3 separate regions of the Homo sapiens genome follow, and regions 2 and 3 are each linked to region 1. The links are contacts of gene promoters, found by promoter capture Hi-C in blood cells and fetal thymus (Javierre and others, 2016). All regions are on one chromosome and are shown on one strand. The core of a region is centred on a gene start or on the middle of the fragment in contact, and the rest is flanking DNA. Distances in the headings are between cores, read along the strand shown. Region 1 holds the start of COIL (coilin). Region 2 holds the start of SUPT4H1 (SPT4 homolog, DSIF elongation factor subunit). Region 3 holds the start of SEPTIN4-AS1 (SEPTIN4 antisense RNA 1).

Region 1 (2,700 bases), core at 130-2,629:
CCTTTAATTCTCTAATAAACTTGATTTTAGTCGGAGGTGGTGGCTCATGCCTGTAATCCCACCACTTTGGGAGGCCAAGGCAGGCAGATTGCTGGAATTCAGGAATTCGAGACCAGCCTGGCCACCATGGAAAAACCCTATCTCTACAAAAAATACAAAAATTAGCTGGGCTTGGTGGCTCACACCTGTGGTTCCAGCTACTAGGAAGGCTGAGGTGGGAAGTCACTTGAACCCGGGAGGCAGAGTGCACCACGGCACTCCAGCCTAGGTGACAGAGCAAGACTCTAAAAAAAGAAAATCCAAAAACCCTTACTTTCAGTTAAAAAATTTTGTTTTCAATTCATCTACTGACTCCCTGGTATCTACAACTTAACTAGTCTAGTGAACTTGGGGAAGTTACTCCTTTTTTTTTTTTTAAGACAGAATCTTGCTCTATTGCCCAGGCTGGAGTGCAGTGGCACGATCCTGACTCACTGCAACCTCCACCTCTTGGGTTCAAGCGATTCTACTGCTTCAGTCTCCCGAGTAGCTGGAATTATAGGCACATGCCACCACACCCGGCTAATCTTTATATTTTTAGTAGAGTTGGGGTTTCACCATTTTGGCCAGGGTGGTCTCAGACTCCTGGTCTCAAGTGATCCGCCCACCTTGGCCTCTCAAAGTGCTGGGATTACAGGCGTCAGCCACTGCTCCTGGCCTCTAGTTACTTCTTAAACTCTCTGAACCTTGTTTTTTTTAAATCCTCTAAATAAGGATAACAGTTCATAATTCCTAACTTTTGTTATGAAAATTAAAGGAGTTAATATATATTATGTGGAGAAATGTAAATTCTAGTTCAAAAAATAGAAGAAATAATGTAAATACTGATTTATTTATCTGGTGAGAAATGCAAGGACATTTTTGTTTGGTGGTGGGTATTAAAAGGCTAAGGTATTTATATTCCACTGGATACATTTGGAAGAATGATTAACAGTGTTATTTCAAAATTTCAACATTGAGAACACACTAGGACTTACATCTTTTTCAACTCATCATGATGAAAAATTTTGTCAGCGAAATGTGTTAGGATTGTTTTATAAAAATCTTTCACGTCGATGAGCAAATATCTTAGAAGACTACTGCTGAGGAGAAATGTTATTTATCCAGAGAGTTGCCTTAATTAGGAGACCCTACATAGCGCCCAGTAGAAATGTAATAAAGGCATTTCACTTATTCCCTTCCTCAGCCCTGCCGTGAACAAAATTGAATGAAATCAACCACGCTCCGAGTTCTCGCCTAGACGCAGCCTGTAGTAGCCAGGTTTCACCACTAGGTGGCACACGCCAAAGGCTCCGGCGGGGGCGAGCCGCCCGAGCACGCCTCTCGGTGGCCCCGTGGTATCTCTCGGCTTCCGTTGAGCACCAAGCAAGATGGCAGCTTCCGAGACGGTTAGGCTACGGCTTCAATTTGATTACCCGCCGCCAGCTACCCCGCACTGTACGGCCTTCTGGCTTCTGGTCGACTTGAACAGATGCCGAGTCGTCACAGATCTCATTAGTCTCATCCGCCAGCGCTTCGGCTTCAGTTCTGGGGCCTTCCTAGGCCTCTACCTGGAGGGGGGGCTCTTGCCCCCCGCCGAGAGCGCGCGCCTTGTGAGAGACAACGACTGCCTCAGGTGCGCGGCGCAGGGAGCGGGACGGCCGGGTGGGCGGCGGGCGGGGGACGCGCCTGCGCACGCCCGGGCCTGAAGCCGCTAGACCTGGTAGTGGAGGGGATGGGGGATGGGGAAGGGGACGAGGGTTGGAGGGGGGTGGGGCTGTAAAAATGCACGTTCGCGAACCCCGGAGATCCTGATTGGTGTAGTCAACTTTGGGGCTCAGGAATCTGCATTTTATTATTATTTTTTATTATTATTTTTTTTTTTTTGAGACGGAGTCCTGCTTTGTCACCCAGGCTGGAGTACAGTGGCGCGATCTCGGTTCACTGCAACCTCCACCTCCCGGGTTCAAGCAATTTTCCTGCCTCAGCCTCCCGAGTAGCTGGGACTACAGGCGTCCGCCACCACGCCCGGCTAATTTTTGTATTTTTAGTAGAGATGGGGTTTCACCATATTGGTCAAGGTGGTCTCGAACTCCTGACCTCAGTTGATCCGCTTGCATCGGCCTCTCAAAGTGCTGGGATTGCAGGCGTGCACCACCGCATCCTGCCCCTATTATTTTTATTTTTGAGACTGAGTCTCATTCTGTCACCCAGGCTGGAGTGCAGTGGCGCGATCTCAGCTCACTGCAGCCTCCACCTCCCGGGTTCAATCGATCCTCCCACCTCAGCCTCCCGAGTAGCTGGGCTTACAGGCGGGCGCCACCATGCCCGGCTAATTTTTTGTTTGTTTGTTTGTATTTTTAGTAGAGACGGGGTTTCACCGTGTTGGCCAGGCTGGTCTTGAACTCCTGACGTTAAGTGATCCTCCCGGCTTCCCAAAGTGCTGGGATTACAGGCGTGAGCCTCCGCGCCTGGCTGGAATCTGCAGTGTAACGAGCATCCTTCCCGGGATGCTTCTGATGACAGGAGAATCAAACTTGGAAAATCCCTGATGCCTAAGGGCAGGGCCAGGCTTTCTTTCAGCCTTGATTTAGCACATCCGCGCTTAGCTAGGCACTGTGCGACTCTGTTGCGTGCCCATGGTGCAGATGTGCCGGAGACCCGGCCTTACCCATGGCGGCC
Region 2 (2,700 bases), core at 161-2,660, 1.4 Mb before region 1:
CTACATCAAGAGAAGTAAATTATTTATGTTATCAGAGGCTAGGCTCCGATTCATGAAAGGATAGGGTAGAGTAGAGGGCTTGGCAATAAGAACTGGTTTGTAAGCCCCTAAAAGTGTGGCTTAGTGAGATCAGGGAAGGAGAAAGCATGACTGGATTCTTACTGTGCTTCAGTCATTATTATTATACTGTTCACTTCACACATTATCATACTTCAGTGACTCAGACCTTGGGCAAATACTCTGTGCCTCGCTTTTTCAGTCCATAAAATGGGCCTACTTAATAGTTGTTGCAGGACTTACATGAGATAATAGAGTGTAGAAAATATGTTCCAAAGTGGAAAGTTTTATTCAGTGATAGAAAACATCCAAACCTGTCACAGAGCCCATCTGAACACAGCATGGGACCGCCAACAAGAAGAAAGCCCGCCCGGAAGCAGCTCAATCAGGAGGCTGGGCTGGAATGACAGCGCAGCGGGGCCTGAAACTATTTATATCCCAAAGCTCCTCTCAGATAAACACAAATGACTGCGTTCTGCCTGCACTCGGGCTATTGCGAGGACAGAGAGCTGGTGCTCCATTGGCGTGAAGTCTCCAGGGCCAGAAGGGGCCTTTGTCGCTTCCTCACAAGGCACAAGTTCCCCTTCTGCTTCCCCGAGAAAGGTTTGGTAGGGGTGGTGGTTTAGTGCCTATAGAACAAGGCATTTCGCTTCCTAGACGGTGAAATGAAAGGGAAAAAAAGGACACCTAATCTCCTACAAATGGTCTTTAGTAAAGGAACCGTGTCTAAGCGCTAAGAACTGCGCAAAGTATAAATTATCAGCCGGAACGAGCAAACAGACGGAGTTTTAAAAGATAAATACGCATTTTTTTCCGCCGTAGCTCCCAGGCCAGCATTCCTGTGGGAAGCAAGTGGAAACCCTATAGCGCTCTCGCAGTTAGGAAGGAGGGGTGGGGCTGTCCCTGGATTTCTTCTCGGTCTCTGCAGAGACAATCCAGAGGGAGACAGTGGATTCACTGCCCCCAATGCTTCTAAAACGGGGAGACAAAACAAAAAAAAACAAACTTCGGGTTACCATCGGGGAACAGGACCGACGCCCAGGGCCACCAGCCCAGATCAAACAGCCCGCGTCTCGGCGCTGCGGCTCAGCCCGACACACTCCCGCGCAAGCGCAGCCGCCCCCCCGCCCCGGGGGCCCGCTGACTACCCCACACAGCCTCCGCCGCGCCCTCGGCGGGCTCAGGTGGCTGCGACGCGCTCCGGCCCAGGTGGCGGCCGGCCGCCCAGCCTCCCCGCCTGCTGGCGGGAGAAACCATCTCCTCTGGCGGGGGTAGGGGCGGAGCTGGCGTCCGCCCACACCGGAAGAGGAAGTCTAAGCGCCGGAAGTGGTGGGCATTCTGGGTAACGAGCTATTTACTTCCTGCGGGTGCACAGGCTGTGGTCGTCTATCTCCCTGTTGTTCTTCCCATCGGCGAAGATGGCCCTGGAGACGGTGCCGAAGGACCTGCGGCATCTGCGGGCCTGTTTGCTGTGTTCGCTGGTCAAGGTGTCAGTCGGGGACCTGGTTGTAGGGCCCATGGGGGACCAAGGTCGGGGAAAGAGGGCGGAATGGGGCTGTGGGACAGTAAAGAGAAAAGTTAAGTCTCAGAACTCAGAGGTGGCAGGGGGAGTGAGAAGCCGAAGGAGGCCATCGTTTACCTCGTAGGATCGCGGACAGGTCTTGCAGCTGAGGGCAGGGGCGGTCTTACATGCCTTTGAATCCTCAGCTCTTAGACGTTCGGTGAACTTACGTTGGAGCCGAAAGACACTGGGAGTCAGAGGCGGGTGGGGATCCGCTGCTGAGTGAGTAGTCGGAAAGGATGCCTGACCCTGAGTAGACTAGAGAAAGGAATAGATAAAACGGAATTGGGAACGAGAGAGGAAGGAGTGGGAGGGTGGGACTTAGGAATGAAGCTTTGAGAGTAGTAGGTGGGGAACCTTAGGATACACAGTCAACATAGGGAAACAAGAAATTGAGCAGGTCGAAGTATTGAGAAAGCTACTTTTTCTCTTGGTCTTGTTCATGCTTATCTCTCCTTTTCCTTTATTTTTCTTTCACTCCCAGACTATAGACCAGTTTGAATATGATGGTTGTGACAATTGTGATGCATATCTACAAATGAAGGGTAACCGAGAGATGGTATATGACTGCACTAGCTCTTCCTTTGATGGGTAAGCCGCTTCAGTTTCCATCATTCACTTCTGCATTACCCAACCTGCACCCAGAGAAGTAAATGCAGGGCAAGTGTTAATCCTAGTTGGGCCCAGCCATTCGTTTTTGGGGGTTATTTTGTGTGGGTTTTTTTTTTTTTTTTTTTTTTTGAATCAGGGTTTTGCTCTGTGGCTCAGGCTGGAGTGCAGTGGCATGATCATAGCTCACTGCAGCGTGGAATGATCCTCTGACTTCAACCTCCCAGAGTGCTGGGATTATAGGTGTAAGCCACTGTGTCCAGCCTCAACAGTTATTTTGGGACATACTAGTGCTATGCATCTAATACAGTGACCACTATCCACGTGTAGCTACTGAGCACTTGAAATGTGTCTAGTCCAAATTAAGACATGCTTTTAAGTATAAAATATACCCCAGATTTCAAAGACTTAACATGAGAAGAAAGAATGTAATCTTAATAATGTTTGTTAAATGCATGAAAATTTTTTTTGAA
Region 3 (2,700 bases), core at 2-2,501, 1.6 Mb before region 1:
GGATGTGACACGGGAGACACATTATGAGAACTACCGGGCACAGTGCATCCAGAGCATGACCCGCCTGGTGGTGAAGGAACGGAATCGCAAGTATGACCAGAAGCCAGGACAAAGCTGGCAGGGGGAGATCCCAAGCCTAGCCTTGGGTGAGACCAAGCCCTACTTTTGTTCTTCTATAGGCCCTGGGCTCAATCTAAGCGGGTGCTGGGGTCCTCCTCGCCTTATCAACCCTTTTCTCCCTTTAGCAAACTGACTCGGGAAAGTGGTACCGACTTCCCCATCCCTGCTGTCCCACCAGGGACAGATCCAGAAACTGAGAAGCTTATCCGAGAGAAAGATGAGGAGGTGAGAGCAGTATGGGGTATAGGGGAGGTCTCCTGTTTGATCACCAACGTTGGTATCTCTTTGTTTGGTAATAGAAAGATCCCTGGCTCTGGTGCATATTTGGGTCCTGGATAGGTCAATAGGTGGTTCTGTCCAGAGTCTCCATCACACCTCACGGCTACCAAGGTTCTGGCTTAAGGGATTAGAAATTTGGGGCACTTTCCCAATACTAAAGGACTCTCCAAAAGTCCCCATTTTGATGCCTGTGCCTATTCCAGCTGCGGCGGATGCAGGAGATGCTACACAAAATACAAAAACAGATGAAGGAGAACTATTAACTGGCTTTCAGCCCTGGATATTTAAATCTCCTCCTCTTCTTCCTGTCCATGCCGGCCCCTCCCAGCACCAGCTCTGCTCAGGCCCCTTCAGCTACTGCCACTTCGCCTTACATCCCTGCTGACTGCCCAGAGACTCAGAGGAAATAAAGTTTAATAAATCTGTAGGTGGCTTCTGGTGTCCCTGTGTGTATTTTTATGACCTGGAGATCAAGATCCTGGGACCCAGTTTTGAAAGGCTAATGGTAGAAGATGTTGGTTTCTGGCTTTTAGTAGGGAAGGGAGAGTGGGGAAAACTTTCCACTTCCTTTCCCCTTCTAAGTCCCTGCTTAGAATCCAGCCTGGCTTCTCCATCTTGACGATCATATCTATCATGCCTCTGTTATCTGGGGTCTGGGTCTCTCTCCATCTTTCACACATACAGTACCTTTGGTAATAAAAAGATTCCTACCTGTGGTGCATATTTGGGTCCTGGATAGGTCAACAGGTGGTTCTGTCCAGAGTCTCCCATCACACCTCAGGGCTACCAAGGTCCTGGCTTAAGGGATTAGAAATTTGGGGCACTTCTCCTGGCTAAGGAGAAAGTGAAACCCTGTCTCTACTAAAAATACAAAATAGCCGGGCGTGGTGGCGGGCGCCTGTAGTCCCAGCTACTCGGGAGGCTGAGGCAGGAGAATGGCTGAACCCGGGAGGCGGAGCTTGAAGTGAGCTGAGATGGCGCCACTGCACTCCAGCCTGGGTGACAGGGCGAGACTCCGTCTCAAAAAAAAAAAAGAAAAATAAAAAGAAAAAGAAATTTGGGGCACTTCCCCAATATTAAAGGACTGTCCAAAAGTCCCCCCTGCCCTTTTTTTTTTTGAGGCGGAGTCTCGCTCTGTCGCCCAGGCTGGAGTGCAACGGCGCTATCTCGGCTCACTGCAAGCTCCGTAGCTGGGACTACAAGACTCCGTAGCTGGGACTACAGGCGCCCGCCACCACGCCCGACTAATTTTTTGTATTTTTAGTAGAGACGGGGTTTCACCGTGTTAGCCAGGATGACCTCGATCTCCTGACCTTGAGATCCGCCCGCCTCGGCCCCCCAAGGTGCTGGGATTACAGGCATGAGCCACCGCGCCCGGCCCAAAAGGCCCCATTTTGATGCCTGTGCGTATTCCAGCTGCGGCGGACGCAGTTTTGTATTTGATACCTGCCCTTGGGAAAACACAAGGTATTAACTGCGTGCAACCTCCTGACTTTCTGTTTCCCCTGATCTGGGAAAAGGGATAGGCAGGTTAAGCTCTACACTGTAGAAAGCCTGTGATAGAGCTTTGAACAAATGCTGCAGCCATTGTAATCACCAAACACTATAGTAAGTGCTGGGAATGAATAAAAACACAATCACCGTCCTACAGGAGTTCAGTATTTAATTAAAAAATTTACAGCATCTGCTAGATTGCAGGCTGTTCTAGACCCTGGAGTTCAAGTAGTGCAAAGTTCCTGTCTTCCTGGAACTTACCAACAGTACTGGAGTTTCAACGTTCTATAAACAAAGATGGGTGAGGACATTAGCCCCGGGCTAATTAAAGCGCTCAGGCCCGCTCCAGACCTGAGAATATCAGCTGAATCTGAATCAACTGTTCTCCATTTCTGTCGGTTGGTGGTATCGCGGGGCCACGGCGACCTCCAGCGGCCACCCTCCGTCTTGTGGTCTGTTCTGGGTCCCCGGGAAGGAAAGGGAGGGGCGATAAGCCGGGTCCTTGGGAGCGTCCTGGTCTCCCTTCGCTTTACAGACTAGGAGGCCGCAGCTAGCTGGCAGTCTCAGATCCAGGTTTCCCATCTCTGGGATGAGAGGAGAGTTCTTCACTCAGGACTGCCAGCGCAATGCAGGTCGTGAAGAACTGCAGGGTCGTTTATCGATACAAAGTGAGTGTTGGAGGAACCCATCAAGACACAGGAAGGGGGAAATCCTAGCGCCGCCAGTCGGAGATGACCAAGACTGAACCTCAGGCCCAGCCCTCCCTTCTCTCTTAGCCTGCAGGTTTTTCTCCTATTCTGGCGTTGG

The links. The method cuts DNA at HindIII sites, captures the fragments that hold promoters and counts their contacts. A CHiCAGO score of 5 or more calls a contact.
Region 2: the fragment with the promoter of SUPT4H1 here is called in contact with the fragment with the promoter of COIL in region 1 in 2 of 17 cell types (neutrophils and total CD8 T cells); the score reaches 7.0 in neutrophils.
Region 3: the fragment with the promoter of SEPTIN4-AS1 here is called in contact with the fragment with the promoter of COIL in region 1 in 1 of 17 cell types (neutrophils); the score reaches 7.2 in neutrophils.

What each region holds. Positions count from the first base shown.
Region 1 is chr17:56,959,729-56,962,428 of GRCh38, reverse strand. COIL (coilin) reads left to right here and starts at 1,379. Exons shown (of 7, transcript NM_004645.3): 1 at 1,379-1,654. The coding sequence starts at 1,410. It overlaps LOC105371836 (a long non-coding RNA gene), which reads right to left and starts at 1,281. Exons shown (of 4, transcript XR_934875.4): 1 at 1,017-1,281. RefSeq lists enhancers at 1,298-1,347, 1,358-1,497, 1,247-1,541 and a silencer at 1,668-1,777. The HindIII fragment of the contact is 13,699 bases long and covers 1-2,700 here.
Region 2 is chr17:58,350,911-58,353,610 of GRCh38, reverse strand. It overlaps SUPT4H1 (SPT4 homolog, DSIF elongation factor subunit), which reads left to right and starts at 1,410. Exons shown (of 5, transcript NM_003168.3): 1 at 1,410-1,544; 2 at 2,103-2,209. The coding sequence starts at 1,476. TSPOAP1-AS1 (TSPOAP1, SUPT4H1 and RNF43 antisense RNA 1) reads right to left here. Exons shown (of 5, transcript NR_038410.1): 4 at 1,697-1,867; 5 at 1-1,612. It also overlaps a transcript of RNF43 not described here. RefSeq lists an enhancer at 94-629 and silencers at 1,017-1,446, 1,727-1,836. The HindIII fragment of the contact is 2,691 bases long and covers 1-1,953 here.
Region 3 is chr17:58,518,388-58,521,087 of GRCh38, reverse strand. SEPTIN4-AS1 (SEPTIN4 antisense RNA 1) reads right to left here and starts at 1,251. Exons shown (of 5, transcript NR_110810.1): 1 at 1,111-1,251. SEPTIN4 (septin 4) reads left to right here. Exons shown (of 14, transcript NM_001368771.2): 12 at 1-90; 13 at 246-345; 14 at 603-832. The coding sequence ends at 662. It also overlaps a transcript of MTMR4 not described here. RefSeq lists enhancers at 2,500-2,599, 1,947-2,692. The HindIII fragment of the contact is 4,387 bases long and covers 324-2,700 here.